Regions from separate parts of the Homo sapiens genome. Here regions 1 and 3 are each linked to region 2. Evidence: promoter capture Hi-C in 16 types of primary human blood cells and fetal thymus (Javierre and others, 2016). All regions are on one chromosome and are shown on one strand. Each heading gives the region's core, a stretch centred on a gene start or on the middle of the fragment in contact. The rest is flanking DNA. Distances are from core to core; before and after follow the strand shown.

Evidence for each region. Contacts are between HindIII fragments. The CHiCAGO score rates a contact against its expected background, and 5 or more counts as called.
Region 1: a fragment that was not itself captured here is called in contact with the fragment with the promoter of TMEM70 in region 2 in 1 of 17 cell types (total CD8 T cells); the score reaches 6.5 in total CD8 T cells.
Region 3: the fragment with the promoter of NCOA2 here is called in contact with the fragment with the promoter of TMEM70 in region 2 in 3 of 17 cell types (total CD8 T cells, fetal thymus and non-activated CD4 T cells); the score reaches 11.9 in total CD8 T cells.

Annotation. Positions count from the first base shown.
Region 1 is chr8:70,603,269-70,607,314 of GRCh38, forward strand. The region is part of intron 1 of TRAM1 (translocation associated membrane protein 1); the gene reads right to left. LOC124902090 (small nucleolar RNA U13) reads left to right here and starts at 1,264; the gene lies at 1,264-1,369. The HindIII fragment of the contact is 1,781 bases long and covers 1,606-3,386 here.
Region 2 is chr8:73,974,024-73,978,301 of GRCh38, forward strand. It overlaps TMEM70 (transmembrane protein 70), which reads left to right and starts at 2,172. Exons shown (of 3, transcript NM_017866.6): 1 at 2,172-2,468. The coding sequence starts at 2,259. RefSeq lists silencers at 1,961-2,040, 2,090-2,305, 2,471-2,520. The HindIII fragment of the contact is 7,182 bases long and covers 1-2,756 here.
Region 3 is chr8:70,402,531-70,406,449 of GRCh38, forward strand. It overlaps NCOA2 (nuclear receptor coactivator 2), which reads right to left and starts at 1,278. Exons shown (of 23, transcript NM_006540.4): 1 at 1,170-1,278. RefSeq lists silencers at 1-534, 565-854, 895-1,204, 1,895-2,054 and an enhancer at 1,675-1,794. The HindIII fragment of the contact is 4,231 bases long and covers 1-2,570 here.

The DNA.
Region 1 (4,046 bases), core at 1,246-3,745, 3.4 Mb before region 2:
TATATCTATATATACACACTATATATATGTTTTATACACACACACACACACACACACACACACACAATCTGTTTTACACACAAACACTCCACATCCCTGTTTCCAGTTTGTAATATGAAGTCACCACTGTCACACCTAAGAACACTTTGTTAAAGAGTCCTTTACAGGCCAGGTGTGATGGCTCACACCTGTAATCCCAGCACTTTGGGAGGCCAAGGTGGCTGGCTCACCTGAGGTCAGGAGTTCAAGACCAGCCTGGCCAACATGGTGAAACCTCATCTCTATTAAAAATACAAAAATTAGCTGGGCATCGTGGCGGGAGCCTGTAATCCCAGCTACTCAGGATGCTGAGGCAGGAGAATCACTTGAACCCAGGAGGCGGAGGGTGCAGCGAGCTGAGATCACGCCATTGCACTCTAGCCTGGGTGACAGAGTGAGGCTCCATCTCAAAAAGAGTCCTTTACAAACAACAAATGAGATTCTTCAAAGATAAATTTAGCATCAAATTCTAAAAGCAGCAAAAATTAGATTATCCTTTTAGCCAGGCTTCCAAATAAAATTAAAATTTGACCTCCAGCTGGTTTAGCATGTGAGTTTAAATAGAAGAAGAAGAGGAAAAATGTAAACTACACACTCCAAAAAGTTTCAAGTTTAAGCTAGCAGTCTTGCTCCTAGCCATTTCCAGGCCTCCTAAGCCTCACACCCTGCTAGCATTGCTGCAGTTAAACTCACACCACAATTAATTAGTAGTAAGATAAGTTAGTTTAGAATATAAATAGGCTACAGAAATATATAATGCACTCGAAAGTAAAAATACCTGAGTTTATGACAGTTTGAACATTTACAGAGCTGCTCTCCATTTACAAAAATGGAAAAATGAAAAAAGAGACTTATTCAGATGCATCTTAAATAGGTTACCAGAAACTGTAATGAATTACCTAATTCTATGCTGTATGCAATGTCATAAATACAACATTTCTTTAATTAAATGTCACCGGTTGGGGCTTGGTATCTTTCTTGTTATATAGAGATGTTAACTACTTTGCACTTGTTTTAGAGGAAGATGTGACCAGTCACTACATGGACTGGATCCTTGAAAAGTAAAGACAATTCTGAATATCAAATTCCACTTCCAGTGGGGCTCAGTGGCACGTGCCTGTAGTCCCAGCCACTCAGGTGGCGAGAGGGGAGGATCACTTGAGCCCAGGAGGTCAAGTTCCAGCCAAGGCAACATAGCAAGACCCTGTCTCAAAAAAAAGAGAGACCCTTTTGTAGTTCACAAGTGTGATGATTGGGGTTTCACGCTTATATGTGAGATGTGTCTCTCCCTCAAACTTTGTTCTGACCTGAGCACCTTACCTGTCATAAAAAGAAAGAAAAAAAGGAAAGAAAAAAAAAACCCAAACCTTGAAAACTGTTTCAAGATTGTTGAAATTGTAAACGTCCCCAAAATCTGTATGGCATAAAGAACTTGCAGATTTTGAATATCTTTCCTTTTGAATATATTTCCTTTTGAATATCTTTCCTTTATACACTCCTTAAAAGAAATACTTCTCTTGTGAACCCCTAATTCTTCACCCCTCCTCCACATACTCACTTTCAGAAAGCTTCCCAAGCATCCCTAACATTTTTTGACCATTCAATTTTTCCTAACTCAAATATGAAGCCATTCATTGTATACTATGATTTGAATTATGTGGACAGATATTTACTGTAATAAAACTATGATTCCAAAATTTACAAGCAATTTTTGATTAATGTGAAGTTCCCTGGAAATTAAACTCTTACATTACTGCCAAACAGACTACTTTGTTAGCCTTTTCAGTATGTATAATCTCTTTAGATGCTAACTAAAGAGATTCCAGGCCCTTCTCTCACATAAAAATGCTTTCTATTTCCCAATTTTGGTGAGTTTTTAAAGAATAATAATAGCTACCACTTATTGCACACCTTTTGGAAGTCAAGTATTGAACTAGGCATAATACAAATTGGTTAATTTGTCAGAGTAACCCAATAAGCCCCATTTTACAGATGAGGAAACTTCAGTTCTGAGCTGCCCTAGGTCACCCAGTTAGCAAGCTGCAGAGCCCTAACTTGAACATGAATCCCTTCAGCTCCAGAATCCATGCTTTTACAGTGTATCTCCATTGCTTCTTCATTTTGGCTAGTAATACAGTATTTCTTTCTTTCTGAATTTCTTTGTCAATGTCACCATAAATCCTCTGACATTTCCTCAATGTATCTGCACAACAGGCTTAACAGTTCTGCAAAAAAAAATCAATTTCTCTATTATTCTAGCACAAGTACTGTAATTCTATAATTATGTTAACTTTGAGATTCAGCAGCAATTGTTTTAAAAGTCGAATAGCAAAACTAACCTAGTCTACAAAGTCCTATATATAGATAACATGCTTTGAAATCCTAACACCTTAATATATGGTAAGAAAAAGGAAGAACTCGCACAAACTTCACTTTTGTGTATCACTTTAACACTCACTTTTGAATTGACTTAAAAACCTCTATTTAGTATTTTTGTCTATTTAGATTTTCAAATTTTATAAATTTATATAAAGGTGAAAATCCACTGTTTAAAAAAATCACTAACATGTGAGGCAAGGTATAGGTGGTGGACTTCCCTAGAAATATAGTAAGAGAATGTAAAATAGTTTATATAAAATCAAAGTTATACTATGTGTCAGAATTTCTGATTTATATTTCATTTCATTCAAAGCACTGCAAATATACCTTGCAGGTCACAGTACCCCTAAAATATGTTTTTAAAGTCAGGAATTCTTACCATGTGGAGATGGTTTATGACAAGTTACAGAAAATTGAATATACTACATATATTAAAGTACTACTTTAAGGTCAAAGCAGAAAGTACATGCAAGTATCAAATTCAGAAAGTGAATACAAATGTTTAACATTGGGTTTTTTTTGAGACAGGGTCTTCTTGCTCTGTCCTTCAGGCTGGAGTGCAGTGGTGAAACCTTGGCTCACCGCAGCCTCCACCTCCTGGGCTCAAGTAATTATCCCACCTCAGCCGCCCAGCTGAGACCACAGGTGCGTGCTATCTATCACTCCTGGCTAATTTTTAAAAAATCATTTGTAGAGACAGGGTCTCCCTATGTTGCCTAGGCTGGTCTCGAACTCCTGGGCTCCAGTGATTCTCCTGCCTTGGCCTCCCAAAGTGTTGGGATGTTTACAGGCATAAGCCAGAGCACCAGGCCTAGCACTGTATTTACCTTCACACCATATCATCTGATACTTGCAAAAAATGGCTGTGAGGAGAACAGTACAGGTGATATTATTTCCTGATAAAGAGCAGAAAAATTGAGGCTCAGACTTGGGTCACCCAGTAGGTAGGTGGCACAGCCCAGACTTAAAGCTTGAGAATGTTAGTTTCCTTCTACCTACCCTTTAACTATACCTGCTACCTCCTTAGCAGTGGTTTCAAACATGCATGACACAATCAGGAGTAAATAATATCTGTATCTAGATCCAGAAAAGCCCATTTGATGAGAGGCGAAAATAAGGTTAAAATATTATTTAATTTTAAAATTAAAAAAAAAAACAAATATGCTCCATTAAAAAGAAAATGTATTCACCTTTTGGTCACTGGTAATATCATTCCATTAGGTTTTCTCAAGGATTCTTAACGTCGCTCATCTTTTTTTAAGCACTCCTATGTCCCAGGCACTATCCTAGACTCTGGAAATACAGACTCGTAAAAATACTCCAAAATCTCTACTCTCACTTGTTACATGCAGGAGAGAGGAGACAAAACAAGGCAGGAGCAAAATAATTTGTATATTTACTGAGACATAAAGGCTCCAGAGAAAAATTAAAAAGGGAAAAAAGCAAAGGAATGAGCGTGTGTATTGGGGAGCGAGGGGAAAAACGTAGGATGTTACTCGTTCACCTTGCAAAGTTTATCATCCACATTCAACAGCTGTTAAATAAGTCATCAAAATACTAGATACGTGGGAAGAGAATTTACACACTCCTGACATTCCCATCCTCTCCTACTTCAAGAAACAAAATTA
Region 2 (4,278 bases), core at 922-3,421:
TTAAATATATCAGCAAAATAATAGAGTGAATATTGATTGTGAGTGAATTACCCTAAACAGAAGAGTTTTTAAAATGTAAATAGGCCAGGTGTGGTAGCTCAGGTTCTGTGACACTTTGGGAGGCCCAGGCGGGAGGATCCCTTGATTCCAGGAGCTCAAGACCAGCCTGGGCAACAAAAGGAAACCCTGTATCCACTAAAAATACAAAAATTAGCTGGGCATGGTGACGTGGCCTGTAGTCCCAGGTACTTGGGAGGCTGAAGTGAGAGGAACACTTGAGCCTGGGAGGTCAAGGCTGCAGTGAGCTATGATGGTGCCACTGCACTCCAGCCTGGGCGACAGAGCAAGACCCTGTCTCAAAAACAAAATAAAAGGTGGGCACAGTGGCTCACCCTTGTAATTCCAGCACTTTGGGAGGCTGAGGTGGGCGGATAGCTTGAGCCTCAGGAGTTTGAGACCAACCTGGGCTATATGGTGAAACTCCATCTCTACTATTAAAACAAATATTAAAATAAAAATAAACAAAATGTAAGTAGAAGCTAACTTTTTATAAAATAAAGTTATCCATATAGAGGTATTATCATTATCTCCTTCTGAATACTCCCCCCAATAGACAGTATTTGGAGTTGCCAACATGATCATATTCTATTGATTTATTTTTATTTTTATTTTTGAGACAGGGTCTAGCTGTGTCACTCAGTGCAGTGGTGCAATCAGGGCTCACTGCAGCCTCAACCTCTTGGGCTCAAGTGATCCTTCCACCTCAGCCTCCCAAGTAGCTGGGACTACAGGCAGGTGCCACCATGCCCAGCTAATTTAAAAATTTTTTGTAGAGACAGGGTCTCACTTTGTTGCCCAGGCTGGTCTCAAACTCCTGGAATCAAGTGATCCTCTCACCTGGGCCTCCACGTAGTATTGGAATTGCAGGCGTGAGCTCCCGCCCCTGGCCACACATTATTTTAGACTATGAATTTGTTCCTCTCCGGTGCAAATAACATGTCAAATCAAAAACATGTATAGTTCTGCAGTGGTAAACAAAAGTGTGTTTCTATTACTAAGATGCTCATCCTTCAAGACTGAGCTAAATGTGAAGCCAGTCTGAAGACATTCTGAGGCAAAATTAATCATGTTCTTCTTTGTACTTCTGTGGCATTTGTTTGTTCTTTTTTTTGAGACACGGTGTCACTTTGTGGTCCAGGCTGGAGTGCAGTAGTGTGGTCTTGGCTCACTGAAGCCTCGACTTTGGGCTCAAGCAATCCTACCATGTCAGCCTCCTGGGTAGCTGGGACCACAGGCACACACTTACCATGTGTGGCTTATTTTTGTTTTAGGTTTTTTTTTTTTTTTTTTTTTTGTAGAGACGGGGTCTCCCTGTATTGCTCAGGCTGGTCTCAAACTCCTGGCCTCAAGAGATCTTCCTGCCTAAACCTCCCAAAGCGCTGGGATTACAGGTGTAAGCCACCACGGCCAGCCACATTTTGTATATTGCGGTGTCTCAATTGTATTACATTATATTCTAGCCAATTTTCAGGTATTTTCCTCCACTGTTTAAGCACTGTGGATTCCCAGTTTAATCTAGTATTTTGTATCCTCTGCTCCTAGCTCAGTCCTGGCAATAGATTCAGTACCTCTTTAACAAGTAATGAATCAATGTGTATATGGATGTGAATGATTTCCGAAGACAAATCTGGTAACACCTATCAATATTACATGAACAATTCCATTTATTTTCCTCCAACCCGATGATTCAATTAAGTTATCACTCATTTTTGTTCAAATCGTATATTCTTTCTTCTGTGCCAACAGGCTAGAATCATTTTCCGCAAAGGAAACAGTTTTTAGTGATGTCGTCCACGAGAAAAAAAAATATTTAACCCTGGCTTCTGGGCATTGTCATTCTCGTACAGCCCTCTGCCCCTCCACACTGTTATAAAGAAGGTAAAATTCTAGGAAGGAGGAGCCGCTGAGCCAAGGACAGAGCGGCGGGCTCCCAGCTCAGCTGGCGGATAACGCGCGCGGCCGGGAAGGCGGCAGGCGGGCGGCAGGCGGGCGGCAGGCGGGCGGCAGGCGGGCGGCAGGCGGGCGGCAGGCGGGCGGCAGGCGGGCGGCAGATTCTGCGCACGCGCAGGCAGCCCAGCTGCCAGTCAGGCGTCCCGGGCTGGGCATGCGCCACTTGTGCGGCAGTCGGGTGGGAAGCCGTGTCTCGCAGTCGTGGACTCGTGCAGCTGGGGCGTCCGCAGCCGCTCGTCACCCGCGTGATGCTGTTTCTGGCGTTGGGCAGCCCGTGGGCGGTCGAACTGCCTCTCTGCGGAAGGAGGACTGCATTGTGTGCGGCCGCCGCGCTCCGAGGTCCCCGGGCCTCTGTCTCCCGGGCGTCCTCCAGCAGCGGGCCTTCGGGGCCGGTAGCCGGCTGGAGTACGGGGCCTTCGGGAGCCGCGCGCCTTCTCCGGCGTCCGGGTCGAGCGCAGGTAGGGCGTCCGAGGTCTGGTGTCCCAAGTGAGGCGGGGAGGGCGGGCGTCGTGTCGGGCCTGGGGAGCCCCAGCGGCTCTTCGCGACCTCTCCCAGGTGTCCGTGGCTGGAGCGCGGGAGGAGCCCCCTCTGCGGGGCTTGCAGAAGTAGCAGGCCGAGGGCCCCGGGGTCCTCAGCCTCCGCGAGTCCAGGAGAACGGCTGGAAAGTGCTTACTTTTATGGTAGTTCCAAATCCAGAGGGTTTGTGGTGACAACTATATGTAGTTCCTTTTCTGCCCTTGAGTAGAAGCTTAGAAGTGTTAATTTGCAAAAAATTGGATGCAGCACCTGGAAATAGAACCGAAAGAGCCAGGTTAACCTGACTTTGAGCTTGTTCTACTTTTATGAGGTGGCTGTACTTTTAAGAATTACTTTGGTCCCTGGGAAAAGGGGGATGCAGATGTTAATTCTTTTATTTTGATCTGAATAAATTGTCTTCTAATTCTACTCTGTAAAATATCAGGATTGGCAAACCTGGTTAAAACTTGGAAGAAATGCTTAAAATGGAAATTGGAATCTAATTACATTTCAGCATTGAGGAATTAGGCATGCCTTTTACATTTTGAAGTGTATACACTGTGAAACTCATTTTCAGATGTATGGGGAACGCTTCTGTTCCCTTGAAATTTGATGTAGGATTTCAAGTAAATTTTATTTCTTTTTTTTTGGAGGTGAAGTCTCGCTCTGTCACCCTGGTTGGAGTGCAGTGACGTGATCTTGGCTCACTGCAACCTCCGCCTTCCGGGTTCAAGCGATTCTCCTGCCTCAGCCTCCCCAGTAGTTGGGATTACAGGCGCGCTCCACCACACCCCGGCTGATTTTTTTTTTGTATTTTTAGTAGAGACGGGGTTTCACCGTGTTGGCCAGGCTCGTCTTAAACTCCTGACCTCAAATCATCCTCCTGCCTCGGCCTGTCAAAGGGTTGGGATTACAGGCGTGAGCCGCTGTGCCCAGCCAAATTTTATTTCTTGTCAAGAAATAAGAGGACCAGGGGATACACGGTATTTACAAGGTCTTTAGAGAAAGATTTGATCTCTTTAATACTATCATATAAATATTTTAGCAGTATTTGTAAAAGGCCTGGACTTTAAATATAATGTGAGTTTGCGGAGTATTTTACTTAAATTATTTTAGTAAAATTAAATTTTATTTCTTAGAGATGGGGTCTTGCCATGTTGCCCAGGCTGGCCTTAAACTCCTGGGCTCAAGTGATCCACCTCAGCCTCCCCAGTAGCTGGGGCTATAGACGTGTTCCATTACACCAGCTAAATGTATTTATTTTTTGAAAAGGTGTTGCATTTAAATAGAATGGAAATGATGTCGTCATTAACAGTGGAGTAGAAGAAACTGTTACTATTTTTACTTGTTCAAGGTCACACTAGACCTAGAAACCTGAGAGCTGGGATGCTAAGCTAACAAACTCCAGCTCTGCAGTTTTCTACTTGTGACTAGAATTAAGGCAAGCCATTCTGTCAGCCAATTTATTTCTTTAACTCTGTAGATTATTTGGGAGAATTCCTTATGTCACCTCATGTGACAAGTTCTTTTCATTACAATTTTATTTTATTTTTTTGAGACGGAGTCGTGCTCTGTTGCCCAGGTTGGAGTACAGTGGTGTGATCTCGGACCACTGCAATCTCCGCCTCCCAGGTTCAAGCGATTCTTCTGCCTCAGCCTCCGGAGTAGCTGGATTACAGGCGCCAGACACCATGCCCGGCTAATTGTTTGCATTTTTAGTAGAGACGGGGTTTCACCATGTTGGCCAGGCTG
Region 3 (3,919 bases), core at 28-2,527, 3.6 Mb before region 2:
TCCCCCGAGGGGAGGAGGCGGGGAGCGCAGCCGGCAGCGACGACCCCGGCCCCCTCCCCCAGCACCCCCCAGGGGCCCGAGAGGGCCGGGTCCCCGTGCCCGGGGCGTGACCGTCGCGAGGCGGCCACAGGGCCCCTCCCGCTTCCCGCCTGGGGCCCCGAGGGCCTGTCCCTTCAGGGGCGGAGAGAAGGGGGCGAGAAAAGGGGGCGCTGGCGAGCCAACCCGGAACCTCCCGGTCCGCCTCCCGCCCCCGGCCCCGGCCCCAGCGCGCCTCCTGCATACACGCCCGCACCCAGAAAGTTCAGTCAGGGGCGAGCCCGGCTCGGCGCCGCCGGGGCCCGGCCCCCGGCTCCCCGCCCCCACCACGGCCCGGCCTGCTCGGCCCCAGCGCGCCGCCCGCCCCGCCCGCCGCAGCTCCTTCCCGTCCGCCCGCGGTGCTCGGCGCCCCTCGCCCCCCACCCCCGGGGCTGACACGGGCCCGGGCCACCCGCCGGGCCGCGGCTCCCCTTCCCCGCCCCGCGCTGCAGCTCGCCGGCCGCCCCGACACCCCGCTTCACCTTCACACACCCCCAGCACTTCCCGAGTCCTGCCTCCCCTCGCCCGGCTCCCACTCTCCGCTGCAGCCGCTCCGCGCTTCCATTAAAGAATGCACCTTCCCAGGATTCACCTTCTCGGCTCTGCCGCGCTGCCCCCGAGGGGTTAGAGCCTCGGTCTCCGCCGACCCCGCACCGGGCTGGGCAATGGGCACTCGCTCCTCGGGGCGGGGGCCGCGCCCGCACCCCCGGCCGCGCCTCGGCGCTCACCTCTCGCCCGCGCCGCGGGCTGCAGCCTCCGCCCGCCTCGCGCTCCGGGACTCGTCTCCTGAGCTCTCGCAAGGCGCTGGAGCGCCTCCTTTCTCTCCCGGGGACTCCGCGTCTCCCCGTCGCTTCCCGCCCTCCCCACCCCCAAGCCCCAACTCCCCAGCGTCGCTGCGCCTCCGGGATGCAACTCCCGTTTTCCGCGCACTCCGGCGGCGGTCCCCGCACACAAAAACAGCCTCTCGGAGGCGCACGGCTCTGTCGGAGCTCGGCGCAGGAAGGGCAGTCGCGGCCGGGGGTGGGGACGCGGCGCCCCCCGCCTGCCGCCCGCCCCCCGCCCGCCCTCGCGGCCCCGGGGGAAGGCGCGGTTACCGGCTCGGGTCGGTCACGCCGTCAGGTGCCGGCTGCCGTCGGCGCTGACCTTCGCCGCCGAAGCTGTAGCCGAGGCTGCGGCCGCCATGTTCCCGTGTTAATAACTGCTGCCTGGTTGTTTATTTCAATGGAGATCCTCCCCCAACTCCCTCCTCCTCCTCCTCCTCCTCCTCCTCCTCCGCGTCTCCGCACTTGCGGAGAGACAGACAGCGCGAGCTCGCGAGCAGGGGAGGGGGCTCGGGAGCCAGGCCGTCCCTCCCTCTGCCTCCCCGGCAGTGGCCGCCGCCAAGTCCTGTCACCGGGAAAAGGACGGGGCGGAAACTTGCCTCTCGCGCCCCCGAGGAAGGGGCAAAGGTGGACGCAGGGTTGTCCGGGGAGCAGCCCCTGGCCGCGGGGTCCGCAGCATCTCCGTCGGCAGAGTCCTCTGAGAAGGCGGCCCGGGGAGAGGTGAAGAAGAGTAAGGGGACAGGGGACAAAATGGGTGACTGTGGTAGAGGGAGGGTGACCTAGAGGTGACTGGAACTGAAGAGAGAGTCAACAGAGGACTGCATGGGAGGGCAAAGGGCAATGCCAAAAAGAAAACTAGCGACTGGGACGGGCCTGGGCCGCTGAGTTAGAGGCAGTGGGGCCTGGGGGCTGCAGACGGCAGGGACGGTGCCCCAGGACGAAGATCGGGGAGAGCCGAGTTCCAGGGTCGCCAGCAGAGGACCCTCGCGCCCGTCCGGCCGGACCCTTCGGCCAGCACCCTGCACCCCCTCGGGCGCACCTCACCCTACCCAACTCCCGGTCCTGCCGCTGCTCCCCGGAGGCGCCCCGCATCCGTCAAGTCCCCTACGGCTCCAACAGGGAGAGGCTTCTCCCATTGCAGTCCTAGCTCCAGAGGGGATGGAGAGGCGCGACTGTGGGAGCTGGAAGGGGCACCACCCGGCAATTGCGGGATAAAGCAAATGCTGCACACAGAGTGTGAAACTTAACCTGGTTGAGAATTTTCGGCACATCATGAAATCATAAGTTTGTATTGGAAAGTCCATTCTCTAGACATCCGTGAACAAAGTACTGAGGGGACGTAGGAGATTGGCACTGAAAATGCGAGAACCCCCATTTAAGTGTTACTTAGACCAATCTGTTTTACGCTTTGGAAAAGCAAGTTTTTTTTCCAACTTATACGGTAATTAGTTGAAAAAAAAAACTTTTGTTTAATGGCAGTTATCAAACTATGAGAGGAACATATTCCCTGATTTTAATCTTATAATGAGAAAGGTCACTTGCGGTAGACAATAAGAGTGTTTATTGAACACTTACTGTGAATCTGACTGTGCTAGGTGATGTATATATGCTATAGGCCTTAATCCTCAAACCTTCCGAAGTCATTGCCGCTTTTCACTTCACACAAAAAATTGAAGCTTAAAGTAATTTGCCCAGGGTCACAGCCAGTAGTTGGAGAGGATGTGAGCCCAGTTCTGGTGAGCTCCAAAGCCCATGCTTTTAAACATGTCTTCATCCTAAAATTTGTGGGTGTACCGCCAATTTTATTTGGGAAAAGAATAAAAAAAATGTGTGGGGTGTGTGTGTCTGTGTTTGTTTGTGGATAGAAAATGCTTGGAAGCCTATAACAACAAATGTTAGCGCTGGGGAGTGTAAGAAGTGGGTGATGAGGCACTTCCACTTTTTATTTTGCACACCTATCTAATGTTTGAAATGTTTGCATTGACTATGTATTAATGTATATTTTTAAAGGTTTTTTTTTTTTTTTTTTTTTTTTTTTTTTAGCTAGCTGGAATAATAGAATTATGTTCCCAAAGCGTTGAGAGGAAATGGAGAGTTTGTTTATGGCCTATCTTCTGCTAATACCAGTCTGTAGCTTGTCTACAATGGGGTAGTAGTCACCTGAGGTTTGTCACAATTCTGAACTCCCGATTTGCTTTCCTGTCCTCACCCCCAACTGTGAGTTATCAGGAGTTGTGATAATAAATAAATAAATAAATAAAAATTTAAAAAAAAGATTCTCCTTCTTGCTTGCTATCCCTCCCATTTTGGCAGAAGTCCAGAGTCTATCAGTCCTCTGCAATCGTAGATTTCACACTTTTTAAAACTACCCATGATACCTCTGCAAACAAATGACTCCCCCCATTGCATTCCCGTATTACCCAATAAAACGTCTTACGACGGCTGAAGACTTTTTCTTACAAGAAATAAACAAAAACGTCTGACAGCATAGTAGATGAGTTCCATGCCCAAGTGCTACTCAATTGCCTGAGCTTGAATTGAATTGTGTGACTTAAACGCGCTCTGGTACAATCTCTGGGTGCCCTCTGAACTTCAGGCTCTTGCTGTAACAGTAGTCTGTCTTGCACTAGAGTTGTTTATATGTTTGTCTTTCTCTTTCACTAGATTGTAAGTGCAACAGAGCCCAAGACCTAGTCTTGTTCTTGTTTGTACATGCTATAGCACCTAACAAGGAATGTATGATGTTTGTTGTTTCATTGAATTTGTGAAATATAAATAATAGTATCTATTCCGATCCTCATGTCCTCTTCCCCACCTCATCTTCCAATCCCTTGCTCATAAAACATGTTTATAAAAAACATCTTCCATACTTAGAAAGAACTTTGATTCCCATGAGACCTCAGAACAATTGTTTATTAAAACTAGCCATAATTTTTAGTGAATCATCACTATGATAATGTAAAATGAAAAGGTAGAGGAGGCGGTAAATAAGTTGGCTCAATGACACAAATTAAGAAAGGAAG